2 separate regions of the Homo sapiens genome follow, and region 2 is linked to region 1. Evidence: promoter capture Hi-C in human tissues and cell types (Jung and others, 2019). All regions are on one chromosome and are shown on one strand. The core of a region is centred on a gene start or on the middle of the fragment in contact, and the rest is flanking DNA. Distances in the headings are between cores, read along the strand shown. Region 1 holds the start of GLI3 (GLI family zinc finger 3). Region 2 overlaps GLI3 (GLI family zinc finger 3).

Region 1 (5,116 bases), core at 943-3,442:
CACTTGTAGCCCTCTATACTTTTCCATGTATTTCTCATTGGAAACCCTCAGCCATCCTGGGAGGTACGCGACCTGGCACTCCTAACACTATCCCCTAGATGGGCTCAGAGCCTATGGAGGCTCAGAGAATCCTCCCAGGCCTGAGGCCAGTTAGTGAGCGCGGAGATGGGGCTGCCACAGGGCTTCTGAGTCTCGTGCTCTCTGCGATGAGTCAGTGGTGTTTTGTTTTTTCCTGAGCCGTGAGGTCGAGGGAAATCTTAAAACAAATGGCTAACTAGGGCCTTTAGCCCCACCTTACCTCCACCACTTCCACCATAAAACCTTAAGTCTGTCTCTGCACTTGTCATGTCATTGTGACAAGGAAGGAGTCCCAAGAAACAAACAATGAATACCACCCTCAATTTCGTTAAAAGATTCTTCAGTTAAGCATTTGAATCTCAAAATGCTCTTCAAATTCTAATAGCTCATCATTCATCCACCCACACTCTTCCTTCAGTCAAGACACTTGGCGGCAACGCCACACAAGCAACCCGGAGCTCCGGGGCACTTCTGGCTGGGTGGACCCGGCTTAACCAGAAAGAGGGGATGTTGGAATGTCACAGGGGCTTTCTTTTCTTTCTTTTTCTTCCTGTGTTTCCCCCCGAGAACTCCTTTTTTAAGTTACATGTCCAGGTTGGATATATTAAAATGACGCAGATGAACAAGGACTGGATGGTCGAGGAAGGAGGCCAAATAACTTTTACTAGCATGGGCCTCTGAAAATGAAGCAGGGACAGAGACACTTTGTAGCTCAAGGAAAAGCGGCACGTTAGAGACCAGGCTCCAAGCCTGGGGTCTTTGTTTTTGTGTCTTTTATAAAGTGGCCCATAGGGACAGCAGGCTGTGTGGTGGGAGCTCCTCCTCGCTTCGCGGATTTGGCCCCGAGGGCAGACGAGTCCGGTGGAGAGAAAAACCCTGAACTTCCAAAGGCATCATCCCGCGAGAGGGAGTTTCGGGGATGGCTTTGGGAAAATGTAAAACAAGGAGATGGGGAGCCAAGGATGGGGGGCGGTGGTAATCAGAGAAGCCTTAAAAGAATAAAGGGGAGTCCAGCCCTTGAGCAAGAGTGAGAAAGAGAGGCTGGGTGGGAGAAGATGGGAGCAGACAGGACGCAGCACGAGTGCCAGGGCGCGCATTTGGGGGGTGTCCTGGCGGTGTGGAGAGAGAAGAGAGAGGGCGCGGGTGACATCACGCCCGGGCCCCCTTCCCCTCGCCGGGTGGGTGGGGCTTCGGCGCGCCGGGAGGGCGCGGGGTCAAGTAGGGGGAAGAGGAGGAGCAGGCATGAATGTGTCTGTGTGAAGACCGGGGAGGGGCGGAGGAGGAGGAGGAGGAGGAGAAGGAGGAGGAGGAGGAGGAGGCGGCGGCGGCGGCGGCGGCGGCGGCGGAGGGCGGGGAGGGAGCGCGCGCGTGGCTCGCGGCGCCCGGGCTCCCCCCCAGCCCCCGACCCCGGCCCGCGACGCGCCGCCTCCCAGCCGCCGCCGCCCGCCTCGCAGCTGGGACCCACTCCGGGCTTGGGGACCCGGCGGGCGGGAGAAGCGGGGGCTCCCGGCGCGGCCTGGAAGGAGCGAGAAAGCAAAAGTAAGGCGAGCAGCACTCCAAGTTTTCCCAACTTCGCCCCCTGCGGCGGCAGGCGTCCTGCTGCTCAGCGCGTCCCCTCCGAGCCCGAGAGTGGCTGAAAGAAAAGGGACTGGGCGGGGGCCGGGGCGGAGGAAGAGAGAGTGCGAGGGAGCGAGGAGAGTCCGGCAACATCTGTTAAAACTTGGGGGAGGAGGAGCGCGGGGAGGAGGAGGAAGAGGAGGAGAGAAGGGAAGGAGGGAGCGCGCGGGAGGGGAGCGCGGAGCCGAGGGACAACTTTTCCACCCCGTGAGTAGTGCAGGCGGTGCCAGGTCGGGGCGGGGGGCTTCTCCACCCAGCACGGGGCACCAGGCCGGGATGGGACCTTTTTCCAGAAAGTCGATTGGATGCCAGGAGAGGCGTACGGCTGGGGGTTTCTTTCTTTCTCTTTCCCCTCCCTCCCGCGGTTGAACCAAATCAGAACTGTCACTCAGGGCTTGTGAGTCAGAAGGGATCGGATTACACGATCCCCGAAACTGATGCCGGAGCTGCACGAGCGGGAGGGAGCGGGCAGGGGCAGCGCCACCGGCGCGCTCGCACACTCGCACTCGCGCACACCCGCCGCTCCCACTCACCCGCGCCGCTCTCCCGCCTTCCCCGCGCGCCCCGCGGCCGCCCGCGCCGCACCATGCCCGCGGCGGGCGCACCCCGCGCCCAGCCCGGCCGCTCGCGGTAGCCGTAGCCGCCCGCGGCCGCGCGGAGCGGGGAGCCGCCAGCCTGCGCCCCGTCCGCGGGTCTATGGGAAGTTCGGGGACTTGACAGCCGCTGCCGCCGCAGGTACGTCCCGCTCGAAGTTCTTTGTTTCGCGGACCCCGCAGCCCGCTCCTGCGGCCGCGCCCGCGCCTCCGGGGCCAGAGGTGGTCCCCAGCGTGGGGACGGGATGGAGTGAAAATGGCTGTCAAAAGGCGCCCAGATTTAGAGAGCCGCCGGTGAGGCGTCCGAGCAAGGCTTGCATTCGCTCCCTCCTCCTGGAAGGTCCTTTCCGAAGAGTCCGACCCGCGGACCGGCCGGAGACGGATTGGAGAATTTCACCTCCCGGAGGGGGGACGAAGTTTGCCGCAGTGGTGGCGGCGCCCCTCGCCTCCGCCCCCATCCAAAGGGTTCAGAAGAACTCCGCGAGCCCCGCACGCGCCTGGCTCCTTCCTTTGCGCGGTGGCGCTCTACGGCTCGGGCTTCGGGCGCGCACGGCGCTCGGGATGGGCGGAAGGAGGCGGGAGGCATGGTGGGTGCGCGCGGGGACCTCCGCCGCGGGGGCCGCCGCCGCTGGGGCTTCTCCAGCCCGGGCTATGCTTCGGAGGGCGGGGGTGTGGTGTGAGCGGATGGAGAGAGGCGCGCCTTCGTCGTCATAGAGGAAAAGTGAAAGTTGTACCATCTGTATATGATTTGGGATTCTCTTATTTCTTTTCCTTTCCAGGGGCAGCGCGCACAGACACACAAAGTAACCGTGGTCCATGCAATAATCATTTAAGGTGCCGCGTTTACACAGAGCAGCAGGGGACAGTTACTTTCTTGAGTAGCAGCGGGAAAACGGGCGGGAGAAGGCAGAGAGGGTGTAAATATTGATCCCAAACTTGCAGAGTTTGTGAAGCGACTTTTAAGCAGATTGTCCGAAGCGGACGCTCCACCCCGCACCCGGCCTTTTATCCTTTCCTGAACTTTGTGCTCCTGTCCCCCATTGCACCTCCTTCTGTAAGATGCCGTCCCCCGAGAGGCGCTGCACCCCAGGCTTCCCTGCCTGACCCCGCGTGGAAAGAGGATTAAGGAGGCTCCCTCCGCCGCTGGTCATCCTGCCCCAACTTCTCATCTCCCCAGTGCAGACTGCCGGGTAGATTCTGGCCTTGGGTACAGTGCTCATGGCCCTCTGCCAGTTTATATGTACATATATTTATGTAAAACATTTTCTCCCAGCTCTTTGCCAGCTGTTCCACATTTTCCAGCTGCCACTTCAGTTTGAAATGATGGACTGTCTGCGTCTCCAAGTCAAAGAACCCTTTAGTCAAAGGTATGGAGGGCCGGCCGCTGTGCAAATACATGGCAGTGCCATTAGCCGGGCTGGTATTATTAGTTCTAAAAAATACCTCCTGCTCCCCTTTTCCTCTCCTCCCTCTTCTCTCCAGTTAGGCTTTCCAGAGCACAGTATATACACTTTGCTGAAAATTCGAGTAATTAGGCCTTTCCCTCTTAAATGTGATTTTTGTACAGAATTTGGATGAGGCCGTTTTTTTAGATCCCTGAAATATGTGTCTGGTGGAAATAAATTAACTTTTAAAAATAAAAGAGTTTCAGCTTGAGCGCATTGGGCATGGCGGGTGGGGGGCCTGCACCCTGGCCGTCTGAAATGAGCTCTTTTCAGTCTATTTAAGGCAGGAACCATTCATCCTCCCCATGCTACACTTTTTGTGTTGTTTGATGTCTTAGCATATTATAGACCGAAATCTACAAGAATTGACCTAAAGTATTAATTTTGAGTATTTATGTAATTGCTCGGTAATTTTGAATAGGTGCCTTATTGATTGATTCCTGTAATTATTTCATTTAGGTTTTAGATTAAAAATTAATAGTAGTCTGACAGTTTCTTAATTACATGTGTCAAGATTCTTTTGAAGGAGGAAAATGCTATGTTTTAAAATAGTGAAATAGCCTCAAAATCTCTTAATTTTTCTAAAGCAGAACAGTATTTCAGTTGAGGGGATATATTAAAGCTGCCGGGACTGGTTTTAACAATGTAAACTCTGTGAAGTATCTGAAGAATTTGTTTATGTTAGGAAATATTGGTCTTAACGACCTGGTACACAAACACTTTGGCCAGTTAAACTATATTCAAACCTAAAACAAACATGAAATAACATTTAAATTAGTTGTAATAGCATGCTTATACAGAGTAGAGAGTTTATTTTATACTAAAAGCTATTTAATTAGAAACTCCCCGCCTAAGGGGAGATCCTTTCAGGGTATGCAATTCTTAAAGTCAGCCTAGGGAAGCTTTGGTTTAAGATGCATGAATGAGTCCAATGTGAGAGGTGTCTAGTGAAATTTCACACAAGCAGAAACACTTTAAAGATATAGATTGTATTATTGTTAGTAGGCTGGTAGGTCCAACTCAGATGCCTACCAATTCCCAGTGCCTTTAACATGCTTGTGTTCCTTGACTGAACCTTGATATAAACACATTTCTATTGTATATCTAATTTGCAAAGGACCATAGACAGAAATGAGAAAATTCAATACTGATGAAAAATGGCTCTGTAGAGTTATTTCATTAATTATTTAATGAAAGAATTGTTAATTTATCAATTCGATGTGCAAGCCTAAAAGTTGGACTTTCCTTTGTTTCTTGGCCAGTGAAGTTTCCTTAATTACCTGCATGCTGTAAGCATTTCAGACTTCCTCTGTGCTTAGCCATTTAGAGGTCCTTCCTCCTATGTAAGGTATCCTGCTTACTGAGACCTCTTCTCCCCCTCCA
Region 2 (4,975 bases), core at 1,301-3,800, 130 kb after region 1:
ACCAACATAGGGATACCAGATATTTGTCCAAATATGGGCATGGCAGGGCTGGGGTAAGTTGGGACACTGGAAAATAGCAAACAATTCCCAGAGCATTCTCTGCTGTCATTACCATTTCACAACACAAAGGCTGTTTTCACACCACGAAGTAGGAAGAACAGATTATTGAGCAGAGGACATTCTTTGAAAATGAGTAACTTTAGCTGTGTGAAACATTCATCACTTCAATCCTTCTTGTTCTCATTTTGTGTCTATTTATTCCATATAATTATAGATTTCCAACCAGTATGTAGAGGCCACTGCTGCAAATGATTCTAAAAGAAGGAGCTCTTCTGTCCAGCAGCAAAACAAATACAGAGCCCACCAGGGAGGCCCACCTTACCTGGGCAGGAAGCTACCAGATGCCTTGGCAGGAGCCCGTCCTTGCTCATGTGGCCATAAGATCTGTTGTGACTAGGGTTCCTATTGCAGCTGGAGGGACACAGAGATTAGGAGCACCTTGCAGCCTAGATTTCTGCAGGAGCAAGAGGGGTGGGCATTGGACCCTGAGGCCTTAGGCTGGGGACAGCACAGTTCTGAGGGCCAGGTGCTGAGTGGGTGTCTGTGAGCATGCTCAGCCTCTGGGCTGTGCTCTCAGAGGACGTGCAGATATCAGACATTTACAGTGAGCAGCATGGAAACTGCGGGCTGCATGAGGATGCCTGTTGGACGGTGAGGCCAGGCTGCCCAATTACGGAACATGCTGGAACTGCTGGGGAGATGGAGGCCAGAAAACACATGCTTCTTCCTGCTTGCCCGGCTGCTCCACCCCTGCCTCTTTTGGCTTTTATACTTTCCAGCCTGCTTGGCCAAAAACCAAATGCAAAAAGGATGAGAGAAACCTTTAGGGGCTAAAAGGAAGGTTCATCATTGAGGTATGTACTGAGAAATTTGATTTCCTGGTGGGGTGTCTGGGCCCCTTGGATAAGCGGATGTACCTCGGGCGTGACCTCACACCCCGCTCATTAAAATCAGTCTTATGTGACTGCAGACGTGGAGGTGCTTGTTTACGAGAGACAGAGCTGCCTCTTTGCTTGAGGAAAATTGATTTCCATTCAACAGATGTGTATGGAGAGCTGGTTCCCCCGAGGCTAGCACTGGACACACACAGTCTATTAAGGCCCAGCCCTAAGTGGGAGGATTCACACCTTGCAGATTCTGCTGTTTGCTTGATGAAGTGGAACTAAAGAATGCTGTTTTTAAATTCAGATGTACATTTCCTGAAAAGATTTTCTATCATCTGTGATTAACTTAAGTACATATTATCTTCTTTTTAAATCTTTCCCTGATTTTCTTTCTCCTTCCCCACGGCGTCATCCTATCTCCCCATCTCTCATTTTCCTCTTACTTCCTTTCGCTTCTCGCTTTTCTCTCTATGCCAGTGCATTTTCTTTTTCATGGAGTTTTGCTTTTATTTAGAGTAATTTTTATAAATATTTGAAACTAAATTTATGCTTCTCAGAAACAAGATTCTTTCTGAAAACATACTTTGGGTGATAAAGATGTAATCTGCTTCCAAATCTTTCCAAATCTGGGTGTAAATTATGAAACAGAAAAAAAAAGAAGCAGCCATTTAGTACCTGATTATCAGTCCACATCAAGCCAAGTTCAGTGTGCCTTCCTGAATTTGCCCACTTGAATTCAGGGCACACAGTAGCAGGCACATGTCAGACCAGGAGTTAGAAACACACGGCTTCAGGACTGGCCATGAAGGACCCAGGGCAGATTATTTATTCTGTTTGAACCCCAGTTTCCTCACCTGTAAAATGAAGGCAATTTCACAGTGTTTCTTTGGATAAATTCAGATAATAATTATCAAAGTTCCTGGCAGTATCACAGTCTTAATCTGTTCAGGCTGCTGTAACAAAATACCATAAATGGAGTGGCCTATAAACAGTAGAAATTTATTTCTCACAGTTCTGGAGACTGAGAAGTCTCAGATCAAGGTGCCAGCAGATTTGTTGTCTGATGAGGACCTGTCTTCTGGTTCATAGATGGCCTTCTTCTCACTGTGTCCTCACGTGGTGGAACGGCCAATAGGTTCTCTGGGGCCTCTTTAAAAGGAACCCCATTCATAAGGGCTCCACCCTTATGAACACCTCCCAGTTGCCATACTGCCAAATACCATTACATTGGGGATTAGAGTTCAATATGTGAATTTTAGAAGAATATATTCAGTCTATAGCAATGTTGTAACTTTAAATGTTTCCCTGAATCAATCCATCTTTAAACCTTTTTTAAGCCAAGAGTTTGAATCTCAGAAATGTGTGTTTATTAAATGATGATTTCATAATCTCACACCCATTACACATAGTAATCTCAGGAGTGGTTCATTGATTCAGTAAATATTTGGAAATGCCTACTTTATGCCAGATTCCTTGCTGTGTTTATGGGATTCAAAGATTAGTAAGACATTTTTCCCGCCCTGCCTGTTTACCCACTGTAGAGATGGGAAGTGGGAAATGCTAGAGCGGATGTGTGAACAAGGCTGGAGGGTGCAGATGTCAGGGCGTCTTCACAGGAGACTGAACTGGGTACTGAAGGATGTTGGGTACGCAGTATGTCTAGGTAGGTTTTACGTGATGCATTATCTTCTTTTCTGACAACATCTTTAATTTAGACTAATGTTGACTTTTGGAGAAGTGAAGTTCAGGATTTTACTGAAGATGATAGATTCCTAACTACTGGCCTAACTGTCTGGCACCATTTTATTTTTCAATGCTTTCATCTTCTTCAAGTGGAGACCGTAAGTATGCTCATATACTTGTACAGGGCACCAAACAAAGCACATCGTCCTCAGAGATACAGTGAACAGTCAAGGAAAGAGATGCACAGTGAATACTAGAAAGTCAGCTGGCCCCTCACGTGACACCCACATGCCTAACATCATCATCAGCACCATCATTACTATTGTTCTCACTTCTTTTATTAACTCTGTTATTATTTATGGTTCATGGTAATGCATTATCAGATTGTAGCACTTTTATTTCTACCTTTTCCTCTTTTCTGAGTCTCTTCACATGCCAATCTACATCTGAAGCTTGAGAGACAGATTTAGGGCCCCATCCTGACTCCTTATCTTGGGTTATCTTGGGTGCTCTTGGATAGGTGATTTAGTGTCTTTATGCCTCAGTGTTCGCAGCTGAGAAATGAGGATTCAGATATCTACGTCACTGGAATGTGAAAAGGACTGGGTGAGGTCATGTGTGTTAAGCATAGCACTTGGCCAAAGTGTAATAGCTGAAGAAATAGTTGCAGAGAGGTTCCCTAAGTATCTTGGAGAATCAGTTATCTTGGTTCCCCAATTACATAGTGAGCTGCTTTCAGAACTTGAATCAAAGCCACAGTCTTTTGCCTCCTAGTCCTGCTTTTTTTTTTAATAAGATACATTTGATCTTTGAATCATGTCACTGTATAAATCGGAGATTGGATAAAAAGTTCAGCTATTTATGGCACTGTGGGGGGTTTAAGGACATGTGTACAAGTTTTTGATACTCCTGCCCTCAGGAGGTGGGACTTCCTTCCTCTTTCCTTAATGACTTACTTCCAGTGAAGTGATGGGATGGCACTTCTAAAATTAGATTACAAAAGGACTGTGACTCAGGTGGCTCTCTTGCCCTCCCTCTTGAATCCCTCACTCTGGGGTGGACAGTGGCCATGCCATGAGGACACTCAGCTGGTGGAGAGGCTGTATGGGGAGGAGCCAAGTCTGGAAACATACTCTCCCCCAGTCAGGCCTTGAGGTGACTGCAGCCTCCTGAGAGACCCTCAGCCGGAGCCACTCAGCTAAGCCGCTTCCGGATTCTCTACCCTCCAAAAGTGTGAGTTAGTACATGTTCACTATTTTCACCTGCTACATGGAAGGTCAATTGTGATTAACTCAGCATCTATCTGCAGAATGGAGTTCAAAGCGTCTTAAGCTTTGAGTTTGCTGTATGTTATAATATGCCACAATTAGGCATTTCTGCGCCAGTGTGACCGGCGAACTGAGATGGCACTCCCATATCCTTGTATTCAGGGGGTTGTTAAAGACAAAAGTTTCAAATGACCCTGCTTGACTTAGGGACAAGCCGGAGCAGGATTGCTGTTCACCTGCAGTTCAGCTCACCATGTCTGAGCCTTAGATAATTTACGTCTTATAGCAGAAACATTTAGAATCATAAATGTTCTAATCCTAGGCATGGGAAGAGATTTGGTGTAACTTGCCTGGTGAGGCACTGAAGCCCAAGAAGTTAAGTGCACACCCAGCCTGTACAGCTGCTCGGTGGCTGGGCTGTTGAGGTTTTCCTCCTGCATCAGCCAGGGCTATTGGGTTACATGCAACAGAAACTGATTCCAACCCTTGCACCAACAGGAATTGCTGGGATGACATAGAATTGTCTTAAAATTGTCAGAAAATCTCGAGAAGCAGGTGCTGTAGAGGCATAGGAAGCAGGCGTGAGAGTCTCCCTGGGGGAATGAGCTCTGACTGCTTCTCCTTCCCCCAACTCAGGCTCAGGACTCAGGCTTTCAGCAGAGGCCGTCTGCTATCAGAGCCAGGTACCCTGGCTGTCTTGGGCAGTGAGGCTCATGGATTTTTTAAAAAAATGATTCCTCAGGGATCTAGAACTAGAAATACCATTTGACCCAGCCATCCCATTACTGGGTATATACCCAAAGGACTATAAATCATGCTGCTATAAAGACACATGCACACGTATGTTTACAGCGGCATTATTCACAATAGCAAAGACTTGGAACCAACCCAAATGTCCAACAATGATAGACTGGATTAAGAAAATGTGGCACATATACACCATGGTATACTATGCAGCCATAAAAAATGATGAGTTCATGTCCTTTGTAGGGACATGGATGAAATTGGAAACCATCATTCTCAGTAAACTATTGCAAGAACAAAAAACCAAACACCGCATATTCTCACTCATAGGTGGGA

What was found. The method cuts DNA at HindIII sites, captures the fragments that hold promoters and counts their contacts. A contact is called where the count stands out against the background at its distance.
Region 2: a fragment that was not itself captured here is called in contact with the fragment with the promoter of GLI3 in region 1 in 1 of the 25 tissues and cell types used here (H1 embryonic stem cells).

Annotation. Positions count from the first base shown.
Region 1 is chr7:42,234,285-42,239,400 of GRCh38, reverse strand. GLI3 (GLI family zinc finger 3) reads left to right here and starts at 2,192. Exons shown (of 15, transcript NM_000168.6): 1 at 2,192-2,430. RefSeq lists an enhancer at 1,467-2,448. The HindIII fragment of the contact is 7,383 bases long and covers 1-5,116 here.
Region 2 is chr7:42,101,908-42,106,882 of GRCh38, reverse strand. The region is part of intron 3 of GLI3 (GLI family zinc finger 3); the gene reads left to right. Among named protein-coding and RNA genes, the nearest start is that of GLI3, 130 kb to the left of the region's middle. The HindIII fragment of the contact is 6,829 bases long and covers 1-4,975 here.